Regions from separate parts of the Homo sapiens genome. Here region 2 is linked to region 1. The links are contacts of gene promoters, found by promoter capture Hi-C in human tissues and cell types (Jung and others, 2019). All regions are on one chromosome and are shown on one strand. Each heading gives the region's core, a stretch centred on a gene start or on the middle of the fragment in contact. The rest is flanking DNA. Distances are from core to core; before and after follow the strand shown. Region 1 holds the start of CHST9 (carbohydrate sulfotransferase 9). Region 2 holds the start of LINC01908 (long intergenic non-protein coding RNA 1908).

Evidence for each region. The method cuts DNA at HindIII sites, captures the fragments that hold promoters and counts their contacts. A contact is called where the count stands out against the background at its distance.
Region 2: a fragment that was not itself captured here is called in contact with the fragment with the promoter of CHST9 in region 1 in 4 of the 25 tissues and cell types used here (aorta, heart left ventricle, hippocampus and 1 more).

Annotation. Positions count from the first base shown.
Region 1 is chr18:27,182,279-27,188,147 of GRCh38, forward strand. It overlaps CHST9 (carbohydrate sulfotransferase 9), which reads right to left and starts at 3,030. Exons shown (of 6, transcript NM_031422.6): 1 at 2,858-3,030. The HindIII fragment of the contact is 14,900 bases long and covers 1-5,869 here.
Region 2 is chr18:27,221,670-27,227,538 of GRCh38, forward strand. LINC01908 (long intergenic non-protein coding RNA 1908) reads left to right here and starts at 2,391. Exons shown (of 7, transcript XR_002958212.2): 1 at 2,391-2,591; 2 at 2,931-3,088. RefSeq lists an enhancer at 1,732-2,255. The HindIII fragment of the contact is 3,822 bases long and covers 1,392-5,213 here.

The DNA of each region.
Region 1 (5,869 bases), core at 1,780-4,279:
TTTACTTTCAAAATTATCTGTAGTTTGGGTTTATTCTGTCCAAAGCCATTCTTCTAAGTTAGGAGAATCTTAACGCTTTCAGGGAAAAGAGCAGTATAGAACACTGTAGCTGGTGATAATGGCCCACTTTTTCTTGGTTCCTGATAATCTTCAAGTACACATCAATTATTTGCAAAGTGTGAAAAAGATCATCACTATCTTTTTCCTCAAAAAATATGAAAATGCTTTGGGACATTGCACCCATATTTGAGTGAAAAGAATTTTCCTAATGTGCTGGCTAGGCTAAAGGAACAAAGGATGTATTATGTAACTTAATTTGGAATGATAAAATACCGTAATATTGAAGCTCTAATTAGAGCAAACACCCCTAAATGGGAAATCTTTCTTGGATAGGGAACTGAATATCTCAAATCTTGCTTTATTGATGACATCAACCAAACAAAGAGTGTGAATCTATCTGCTGATTACATCCCAACTCATCCAGATTCCCAAATACAAATATAAAGTATATAATAACAGGTAAACATGTTATTCATATCCTATCTCACATCCTATGCTATTCATATGCAATACTGATGTGGGAAACAATGTGTATTTCTTAGGTTTACTGAATTTGGAATTTGTAAGAGTAAGTTAGTCTCTTATTTTGTAAATTCTTCCTTGGAAGATGTTACATTCTCCTGGAAACCATACTAAGTTTCTGAAGTCACAGGGCTTTTTAATGCACTTCTTCAGAGCATCAAATGCTACCCTTGTGACCAGGAAGAAAGGAAAAGAAGGTCATCAGGAGGGCCCTGCAGCTGCACTAATTTCTAGCTTCTCTCTGTTAACAAAAAGGTGGGGGGTGGGGGGAAAGCAATCAGATTTTTACTGGAGTATACACCAGCCTTGGCCAAGTGCTTTGAAACTTTTAGAATGTCTTCTTTCATTGAAAATAAAAGAAGCAGAGCTTATGGTGTAATAAGCCAAACACAACAGTTACTGAACTTGAGTCAACATTGGATACCATTACAGCTTTCAGGATAGTCATGGGAATGTATGAAATGAGTAAGTACGTTTTGATACCTGTGAAAATAAAACATTGTGCTGTAAGTGAGTGGGAGAGAACAGATGGTTGGTAATGATTTAAAACATTTATGTTTTTGGACTATCACCAAGCCTCTGTATTAAAAAATATGGTGTTTAGTTAGTACATACCAACATCTATATGCAAGGTGCTCATTTTCTGGAGGACGGTACTGTAATGAAGGGGATAAAAACCAAATGAGGTAAGAGGAACATTCTTCTCGTTTTCTGGGGGCATTCAGTGTGTGCTATTTCTTATTGACGATATGCAATCTAAATGTTTTCCATATGATGAGAGGATTTTAATTTTTCCTCAATTACTAGTCAGCTGTAAGTGCCTAGGAATCATACTGTTTGATCGTATGGTGTAGAATTGTAATATTGTTTTGTAAATTTGATTCACTTTGATTGAAGCTCTTACACCCTTTGAGCAATAATAAAAAGTGGTAGTTCAGGGTGCTCTTGCCCATGAAAAACAATAGCATTCACCTTATCCTCACGTTGGTTGGCAGGCATATGGTGTTATGATTAGGTACTGGAATTAACAGGTGCCAGCCAACTGAATCAGAAGACAGATAAATACTAAATATGGTCACAATGCATTTGGATGTGTATATGTGAGTTGAAAAGAGGCCCCTGTCCTTCAAACCGAGAGGAATAATAACAATGTAAATAAAATTGTACAAAGATAGATTAATGCAATTCTGAGGTTAAAGCGAAGAAAAATAAACATTGGTAATACTCTCAATTATCAGAAAAACTGCGAAAAGGGAGTCCTGTTAAGCATCCACGGCGTTTTGATTTGGATCTGATAGCATAATAGGGAGAAAAAAGTCACACACACACATTGTGTATTATTCACTTGCCATCGCTTTCAAAACGCTGGGGATTATTCAGGCACAGTATGTTTGTGGGAGGGAGCTGGGGGTGGACCGCAGAGAGAGAGAAAGGAGGAAGGCCTGCAGCTCTAGACTTAGCACCTGTGAACTTAGTTGGAAATAACTCCTGACAGACATCAACCATAACACCTTCTAACAGAAACATGCTGATAGGCAGGATGTTCAAACGGGGCAGAAGAGGGAGCAGGCAACCCTGTGAAAGTAACAGCAGCAGAAACAAACACACCATTCCTTCTCCCCGCAACCCACTTGGAGCCCCTCCTCAGATCGCCCCTCCCAACCCCTCTGCTCTGGCCACGATCGCACCTGGCCTCCCGGTCCCCCTAACTTCCCTCCCACCTCTCCCGCAGCCTGCGCCTGAGCCTGAGCCAGGTCGCGGAGTTTGAGACTGACGCAAAGGAGGCACCCCCGCAGCAGAGATGCTCGTCTTTCTGCCACACACCCTGGAGGACCCGACAGACTGGCAGCAGAAACTAAAGACTGTTCCTGCCGTCCTCTTTCCAACCTCTGCATGCCCCAAGAGGGGTCTGACCCCGGAATCCTGGAGTCCAGGGTGCCCCGCCGGGGCGCAGGAAGGAAACTCAGGTAGCTGACAAGTTCAGGCGGCCGTCCTTCTCCAGCGCCCCCTCAAAGTCAGGATCCCCTCCTGCTCCCGCCCCCCACCTCCCGCCATGCGTCCACTGAAGTGAAGGGAAGTGGGTTGGAATACTGGAGGTAGGGGAGATAGAAAAAGGAAGAAGCCTCCCGCATCTCCAGCGGCGAAGCACCTGGAAAGGTGAGGGCGCACGTCCCCGCCCACCAGAGCCCGCTCCCGGCGCGGGTACCCAGCAGCGCGCCATCATCTCTGCCCCTCCAGTGCCCCCCAGCCCCAACCCCAGCCCCAGCGCGGTTACCTCGCGGGCCGCTGCCGGGCGCTTGCAGGTGCTGCTGTTCCAGGAGCGCAGCTTCGGAGGAAACTTCCCCGCGCTCCGGGGCAAACTCCCGCGCACTCCTGGCAGCCGTGAGGTGGCTGAGAGCGGAGCGCCGCGCCGGGAGCGGGGACAGCTCGGAGTCGGGCGCTCACCCTGGCCCTGACCCTCCCGCGTCCGGCCCGGCTGGGGCTGCGGCGCCGCCTCCGCGCCCGCTCCCGCCCGCGCCCCCGCCCCCGCCCGCCCGGGCAGCTCCGCCTCCCTCTTTTTCTCTCCCTCGCCCCCGCTGCCCGCCCTGCCTTCTCCAGCTCTGCCTTTGTGGCTCTCTGGTCCCCTCTTTCCTCTGACTTTCTGGCCTCGCCTCCGCTGGCGACTCGCCCTCCCAGCCCCGCGTGCCAGGGCTCAGGTGCCACCCCATGCCCAGTCGAGGAAGTGATTACCCTAGCAGTTCTTTCCCAATTCGCCCTCTCCTCTCCCCTGCGCTGGGGTCTTCTCCTAGCTTTTCTAGAAACCCAGTTCTGAGGAACACGTCCATAGGTTAGAAGGCTGTCGCAAACGTTAACTCCAAAGTCAAAATGTGTTTTGCTTTACAGACAGGAGGTGATGTTCGTTTGTTTATTTTAATACATCAATTATAATAGATCAATAAAGTGCTTGTTGTAAGTACGGCTAAGTTCAGCAGCAGGTTTGTGTAAACCAGGGCTCCCTCAAAATGAGCATAGTACCCATTTATAATGTTCAAGACCTAGGAGATTTCTCAGGCCACGCATTTCAAAATCGAACAAGCTGAAGTTGGCGGTTTTAAAGGGCTTTGCAAAGACCAACACTAGAATAACATTTTTAAATCATTAAAGGAAACACCAGGCTTTGGGAGGCCCAGGCGGGAGGATCACTTGAAGCTAGGAGTAAAAGGCTGCAGTGAGCTCTGATCCTGCCACTGCCCTCCAGCCTGGGCAACAGAGCAAGACCTTGTCTTGAAAGAAAGAAAGAGAGAGAAAAGAAAAAATAAAAATGGTTCATTCAGGTTTAAAAATTAGTTCTAAACATTATTCTATCAACAATTTGACCAAACTAGGGCAAATAAAAATAAATGAATCCTTGATTGCTTATTTTGCATTCAGATGATTTCTATAAATTAACAAAGAAAAACTCAACTATTTTTTTAAAAGCATTAACTAGTTAAACCTACCTTATTACGACATTAGAATTTTGTTGTTGCTTTTGCTGAAACTGAAATATTAGCCTTATGCACTTCCAGTAGGTCTTATTCTTATTAATGGTTTAGTAATAACACATCTGGTAGTAGTGAACTTTGGTTCTTTGAAGAATTACCATTATAGGACTTGTTTGCCTGATGCAGGTTTCTTTTTAAACAGAAGCTGATTTATTATTCTGTCACAAGTGTTTTATTTTCATGCATTTTTAAAAATTGGGGTAAACACCACATTTTTATCATTTTTAATGTACAGTTCAGTAGTGTTAACATACAGTCACATTGCTTTAAAATAGATCTTCAGAATTTCTTCATCTTGCAAACCTGAAACTTTGTCCATCAAACAGCTCCCCCTTTTCCTCTCCCCTCTAGCACTTGGTAATTACCATCCTACCTTTTGCTTCTATGAATTTGACAATGTTAGATCTCTGATATGATTAATATCCAGAATATATAAAGAGCTCCTATAACTCAGCAACAAAAAGTCAAATAACCTGATACAAATGGGCAAAGGACTTGAATAGACATAAGAGTTTAATTTTTAAAATTTGTATATTTGCTGGGGTTTTTTTGTTTTATAGATTTCTTTTTATTTCAGCTTAATTGTAAAGGAGTTTTAAAGTTATCAATGCCATATAAACACACTATTGAAAATTTGGAAAATTGAAAAAGAGTAAACAAATCATTCCACAAGCAAACCATTGTAATACAACTTGCTGATTTGTTATTAACTTTTAACCCAGAGTCAGTCCTTCATATGGGGAAAATCCTCATTCTCCAATAGAATAAATGTTTCCTGAGTTGAAAGAAACAAGCTAGTGTTCCCTGAGCTGTATTTAACTGACACATGCCTGGTAGGCAATTGATGAGCGCTCCTTGAATGAACTAACCATTTAACTTACTCGCTCTTGGTTTGGTTCCCTGTGTATCCATCCATGTTCTATGAATTCTTGGAGTTGGTACTATCCATTATATCACAGCAGTGAGGAAATTCAGGCCAACCTGATAATACATGAACTCTACTTCTAGGCTGTTGCAAAACATGCAAATTTTTTAGCCTGTGCCTTTCAGAAGTTGAGCAAGAATATCATTAGAACTGTATTTGAATATAGTTCTATGCTTAAAATGGGCATAAATTGAAAAGTTTTAGTAGCTAACGGGGGAATTGGGCATGATCAGATCAACTTATTGAATTTGCTTGATTGATGAGCTACTAGGCATTGCTAGTCCATTATGGGGTTTCCAGTCTTTAGAATCTATTTTATTCACTTATCTATCACAGCAAATCAAATATTTAGAACTGTGGCTGTCTTTCATTCCTAGACCTCTGTTTAAAACTGATTTTAAAAATTTGAAGAATTACTATTATAGAAAATTGAATATTGTTAATATCCAAGGTTGATGAATAAAGGATCAAAAAATTACCTAAAATGTATACCAAGCACCAGTATAAGATGCATGTTCTCATGCCATTTGATTGGGAGTTATATTGTTATGTGAAAATATTACCTTTTAATTTTGTAGTTAAACTAATTTAATTTTACACAGTGAATTATTTCTAAAACATTGATTAACAGCATGTTTCTAAACTCTCCAGTCTATTAATTTTGTTTAGTTCTTTCAATTTCTTAAAATGTTTAACTATTGACTGTTTCTGGGCAAGTGTGAAGCTTATGTATTGTTGATCCTTTAATGAATAGGTTGGTAACAATTATGGTCCATAAACGTGGTTTCTGCATCAAATCTCAAGGTACATTCAATAGCAAAAGTGCCTTCATAGAAGG
Region 2 (5,869 bases), core at 2,053-4,552, 40 kb after region 1:
TGTTCTGTAGATATGTGTTAAATCCATTTGTTCTAGGGTATAGTACAAGTCCATTGTTTGTTGACTTTCTGTCTTGATGACCTGTCTAGTGCTGTCAGTGGAGTGTTGAAGTTCCCCAATATTATTGTGTTGCCATATATCTCATTTCTTAGCTCTAGCAGTAATTGCTTTATAAAATTTGAGAGCCCCAGTGTTTGGTGCATATATATTTAGGATTGTGATATTTTCCTGTTTGACTAGTCCTTTTATCATTATATAATGTTCCTCTTTGTCTTTTTTAACTGCTGCTGCTTTAAAGTTTGCTTTGTCTAATATAAGAATAGCTACTCCTGCTTGCTTTTGGTGTCCATTTACATGGAATATCTTTTTTCACCCCTTTACATTAAGTTTATGTGAGTCCTTATGTGTCAGGTGAGTCGTCCCTTGAAGATGGCAGATGCTTGGTTAGTGAGTCCATTCTGCAATTCTGTATCTTTTAAGTGGAACATTTGGGGCATTTATATTCATCGTTAGTATTGAGATGTGAGGTACTATTTTATTCATTGTGTTATTTCTTGCCTGAATACCTTTTTTTTTGGCATTGTGTTATTGTTTTGTTGGTCTTGTGAGATTTATGCTTTAAGGATATTCTATTTTGGTGTATTTTGAGGACTTGTTTCAAGAGTTAGAGCTCCTTTTAGCAGTTCTTGTAGTGCTGGCTTGGTAGCACTTGTTTGTCTGAATAAAGACTGTATTTTTATTTATGAAGCTTAGTTTCACTGGGTACAAAATTTTTGGCTGATAATTGTTTTGTTTAAGGAGGTTAAAAATGGGAAGCAATCCCTTCTATCTTGTAGGGTTTCTACTGATAAATCTGCTGTTAATCGGATAGGGTTTCCTTTATAGGCTACCTGATGCTTTTGCCTCACAGCTGTTAAGATTCTTTCCTTCATCTTGACTTTAGATAACCTGATGTCTATGTGCCTAGGTGACGATCTTTTTGAAATGAAATTCCCCAGGTGTTATTTGAGCTTCTTGTATTTGGATGTCTAGATCTCTAGCAATCATGGGGACATTTTCCTCAATTATTCCCTCAAATATGTGTTCCAAACTTTTAGATTTTTCTTCTTCCTTGGGAACACCAATTATTCTTGTGTTTGATTGTTTAACATAATCCCAAACTTCTTGGAGGTTATGTTCATTTTTTTAAGTTCTTTTTTCTTTGTCTTTATTAGATTGGGTTAATTCAGAAGGCTGGTCTTCAAGCTCTGAAGTTCTGTCTTCTATTTGTTCAATTCTATTGCTGAGGCTTTCCAGTGCATTTTGCATTTCTCCAAGTGTGTTCTTGATTTGCAGAGGTTGTGATTGTTTTTTTATCTATGCTATCTATTTCACTGGAGATTTTTCCATTCCTATCCTGTATCATTTTTTTGATTTCTTTAAGTTGGACTTCACCTTTCTCTGGTGCCTTCTTGATTAGCTTAATAACCAACCTTCTGAATTCTTTTTTTGGCAATTCATATATTTCTTCTTGGTTTGGATTCATTGCTGGGGAGCTAGTGTGGTCTTTTGGAGGTGTCAAAGAACCTTGTTTTGTTATATTACCAGAATTGTTTTTTTTATTCCTTTTTATTTGAGTACACTATGTCAGAGGGAAAATCTGGAACTAAAGGGTTGCTGTTCAGATTCTTTTGTCCCTGGGCTGCTCCCTTGATGTGTTGCTCTCCCCCTTGCCTAGGGATAGGGCTTCCTGAGAGCTGAACTGCAGTGATTGTTATTTCTCTTCTGGATCTAGCCACTCAGCAGAGCTACTGGGTTCTGAGCTGGTACTGGGGAGTGCCTGCAAAGTGTCCTGTGATGTGATCTGTCTTCAGGTCTCTCAGCCACGGATACCAGCACCTGCTCTGATGGAGGTAGCAGGGGAGTCAATTGGACTCTGGGAGGGTACTTGGTTGTATTTTTGTTGAATGCCCTGATTTTGTGTTGGTTGGCCTTCAGCCAGGAGGTGGAGCCTTCAAGAGTGCATCAGCTGCAGTAGTATATGGAGGATACAAGCTTTCCCTAGAGTTGCCTTTGGATAAGTATTCAGGATTCTCAGGTGGTGGGCAGGTCCATAGAGCTCCCAAGAGGTTATGTCCTTTGTCATTGGCTACCAGGGCAGGTAGAGAAAGACCATCAGGTGGGGGCAGGGTTAGGCATGTCTGAGCTCAGACTCTCCTTGGGTGGGGCTTGCCGTGGCTGCTGTGGGGGATGGGATGTTGTTTCCAGTCCAGTTGAATTATGTTCCTGGGAAATTATGGCTACCTCTGCTGTGTCACATAGGTTGCCAAGGAAGTGGGAGAAAGCCAGCAGCCACAAGCCTCACCCAGCTCCCATGGAGCCTGCAGCCTGCAGCTTGAAAGGCCAGCCTCATTCCCACTGTGCCCCCACAACAGCACCGAAGCACCGAGTTTATTTCCAGGCAGGCAGTGAGCAGGGCTGAGAAATTGCCCCAGGCTACAAGCCTCCCAGCTGAGAAAGCAAGCAGACTCACAGTTCCTTGGCTGTCCCATGCAGCCTGCAGCAGCAATCCACCCCCTTTAAAGTGTCTGTGGATTCTTTCAGCTTTTTTGGTATGTTCCTATGGTAGTTCTTGGGGCAAAATTTCACAGTGTGAGTCTCCAAATGCTGCTTTGTCTGTTCAAGTGGGAACTGCAAGTTAGTCCTGCTTCCTATCTGCCATTTTTTCCCGGTCTGTCTACATTTTTATACAGTTCATCTTTTACATGCTAGTAAAAGTAATACTGTGCTTTAAAGTTTTTTTTGTTTGTTTGTTTGCTTGCTTGTTTGTTTTTAAATAGGAAGGAGAATCTGATGTTTTTTGTTTGTTTGTTTGAGACAGAGTCTTGCTCTGACACCCAGGCTGGAGAGCAGTGGTACAATCTTGGCTCACTGCAACCTCTGTCTCCCAGGTTCAAGCAATTCTCCTGTCTCAGCCTCCCGAGTAGCTGGGATTACAGTCATGTGCCCCTGTGTCCAGAATTGGTTCCTTCTGGTGGGTTCTTGGTCTTGCTGTCTTCAAGAATGAAGCCGTGGACCCTCGTCATGAATGTTACAGTTCTTAAAGATGGTATGTCCAGAGTTTATTCCTTCAGATGTTCAGATGTGTCTAGAGTTTCGTCCTTCCAGTGGGTTGGTGGTCTCGCTGACTTCAGGAGTGAAGCCTCAGACCTTCGCAGTCAGTGTTCCAGCTCTTAAAGGTGGCGTGTCCGGAGTTGTTTGTTCCTCCCGGTGGGTTTGTGGTCTCGCTGACTTCAGGAATGAAGCCGCAGACCCTTGAGGTGAGTGTTACAGCTCATAAAGGTAGTGCAGACCCAAAGAGTGAGCAGCAGCAAGATTTATTGCGAAGAGCGAAAGAACAAAGCTTCCACAGTGTGGAAGGGGACCCAGTGGGTTGCCACTGCTGGCTCAGGTGGCCAGCTTTGATTCCCTTATTTGGCCCTGCCCACGTCCTGCTGATTGGTCCATTTTACAGAGCACTGATTGCTCCATTTTACAGAGTGCTGACTGGTGCATTTACAAACCTTTAGCTAGACACAGAGTGCTGATTGGTGCATTTTTACAGAGTGCTGATTGTTGTGTTTACAATCCTTTAGCTAGACACAGAGCACTGATTGATGCATTTACAATCCTCTAGCTAGACAGAAAACTTCTCCAAGTCCCCACTCGACCCAGGAAGTCCAGCTGGCTTCACCTCTCACCACCACACCTGGCTAATTATTGTATTTTTAGTAGAGACAGGGTTTTGCCATGTTGGCCAGGCTGGTCTTAAACTCCTGACCTGAGGTGATCTACCCACCTTGGCCTCCTTAAGTGCTGGGATTACAGGTGTGAGCCACTGCACCTGGCCAGAATCCAATGGTTTTTAATATAAAAAATAATAACAACATGAAATAGCATCTACACGTAAGTCATCACCATAATAATTTCAATTTGGCATTAGTACGATGGCATAGATATCAAAAGCACGTCACATTTACTTCGCCCTCAAAACAAACAAACAAACAAACAGGAAATAAGGCTCAGGTAACTAAAAAGTTAGAGAAGTGCTTCTCTTCTTGATGTGTAGGAAGCAAGAGCTTCACAGGTACATCTTTTAAGGTTCTTCCCCAGGCCTGAAAGCTTAAGGAGATGAATAACTCCTCCCTTCTCAGGCCTGGTACCAAGGTGCAAAGCTACTTGCAGCAGCAGCGTGCGCCAGCAAGATAGCAGAAGCAGGAAGAGAGCCAGCCGGAAGACATGTACCTCTGAAGATCAAGAAAGAGGCTATCCAGGTACAACGTAGCAGTTAGGTCAGACTAGGACACTTCCTGTTTACAGGAGACTATAAAACCTTTGCCCCATCCTCACTTGGTGCTGATGCCATTTTAGGCCTCAGCCCGCCTGCACCCAGGCACTCATTAAAACAGCATGTTGCTCCATACCGCCTCGTGTTATTTGTTGGTGTGCTCTCGGGGTTCGAACCAATACAAGGACTTTACACATCTAATGTTGAAACCCTTGACTCCTTTTGAATTTGTAGATAAACCTGCAGCATCACTTGTTTGGCTGTTACTACCTTCACCCTTTAAATATTTACCTAGTCAGATGGGACAGGGAGAATGGTCAAAACCAAACTGGCACATACAACTCTGAATGGGCACATGCATAGACTCTAGGAGCCTGAGGTCTCATCAGCCCATACTCCCTCCCTGCCTTGGCACTATTATTTCTCTTGCCACTGGTGCTTTATTCGTTGGATTTTGAGGCTAGAATTTAGGACCATGAAATGTATTTTTTGGATCAAGAATTCAACCATGTTTCTAAGACATGGATCTGTTGATGGCTAACCTAAAAAAATTCTTTAAGAATGAAACACATGCTTAGCCCCTAGGAAGAAGAGCAATGGTGTCCATGGAAGAAAACCTGATTCATTCTCAATTTGGTAGTCAGTTCCAGCAATTGTTATTGTCTGATTTTCTCCCCACCTCCTTCCTCTTGCCGATCACCTAAAATATCTTTGGAGGGCCAGCTCATTTCCATACTTCAAGACTCAGAGCACTGAACAAAGTTGCCATTGTCTGTTTATCTCCACAAAGATCTTAGGCAAACAGGATAGAATTTACATCTTAGTTGTTTTTAAGAGAGCTCATGAACTCGGTGAAGTAGCTTTTGGTATAGGGAAAGCAAGTGTTACCACAAACGAAGGGAATCTAGGCAATTTCCTTCTTTTGCTTTCTCCGTTATTGAATATATTTATTTATAATTCACTACACACAAAAATCTTCTCATAGCTGCTCTGGTACATTCCTGCAGAGAATTCTGAATGCCATAGTGGTGATTAAGATATTATAACTACATAAATAGCATAATGGCGTCCCTTCATGAGCAAATAATAACTGAATTTGGTTTCCACATAATGGTAGTACTGAGTTCTATTTTTAAAGAATTCTGCTTAGGAATATTGAAGACAAAAATTGAATGCTTATGAAATAAGGGAAAATTGAAAATCCCTTATTTTCATGATTATTAAGGTTATTATTATTGATTAAAATGGTTGGAATTGAATCATTGCGAAGCGTTATTCTTATAAATACCATTCTTTTAGCATATTAATATACTTTCTTCCAACTAAAATGTTTACTGTGTAATAAAATTATTACAATGTAACATAGTTTTTAAGAAAACATGTTCTCCACCTCTATCAAATATCAGGATTTTCCCATATTTGCAAACGAGTAAGGGTGTATAGCATAAGTGCCCAATGGATTCTTTCTGCCCACTGCACAAACAAAATGAATTCGCAGACACCACGGCATTGCCATGAGAGAGTTTAACTGAAGCGAGGCCAGCCACACCATGGGAAAGATGG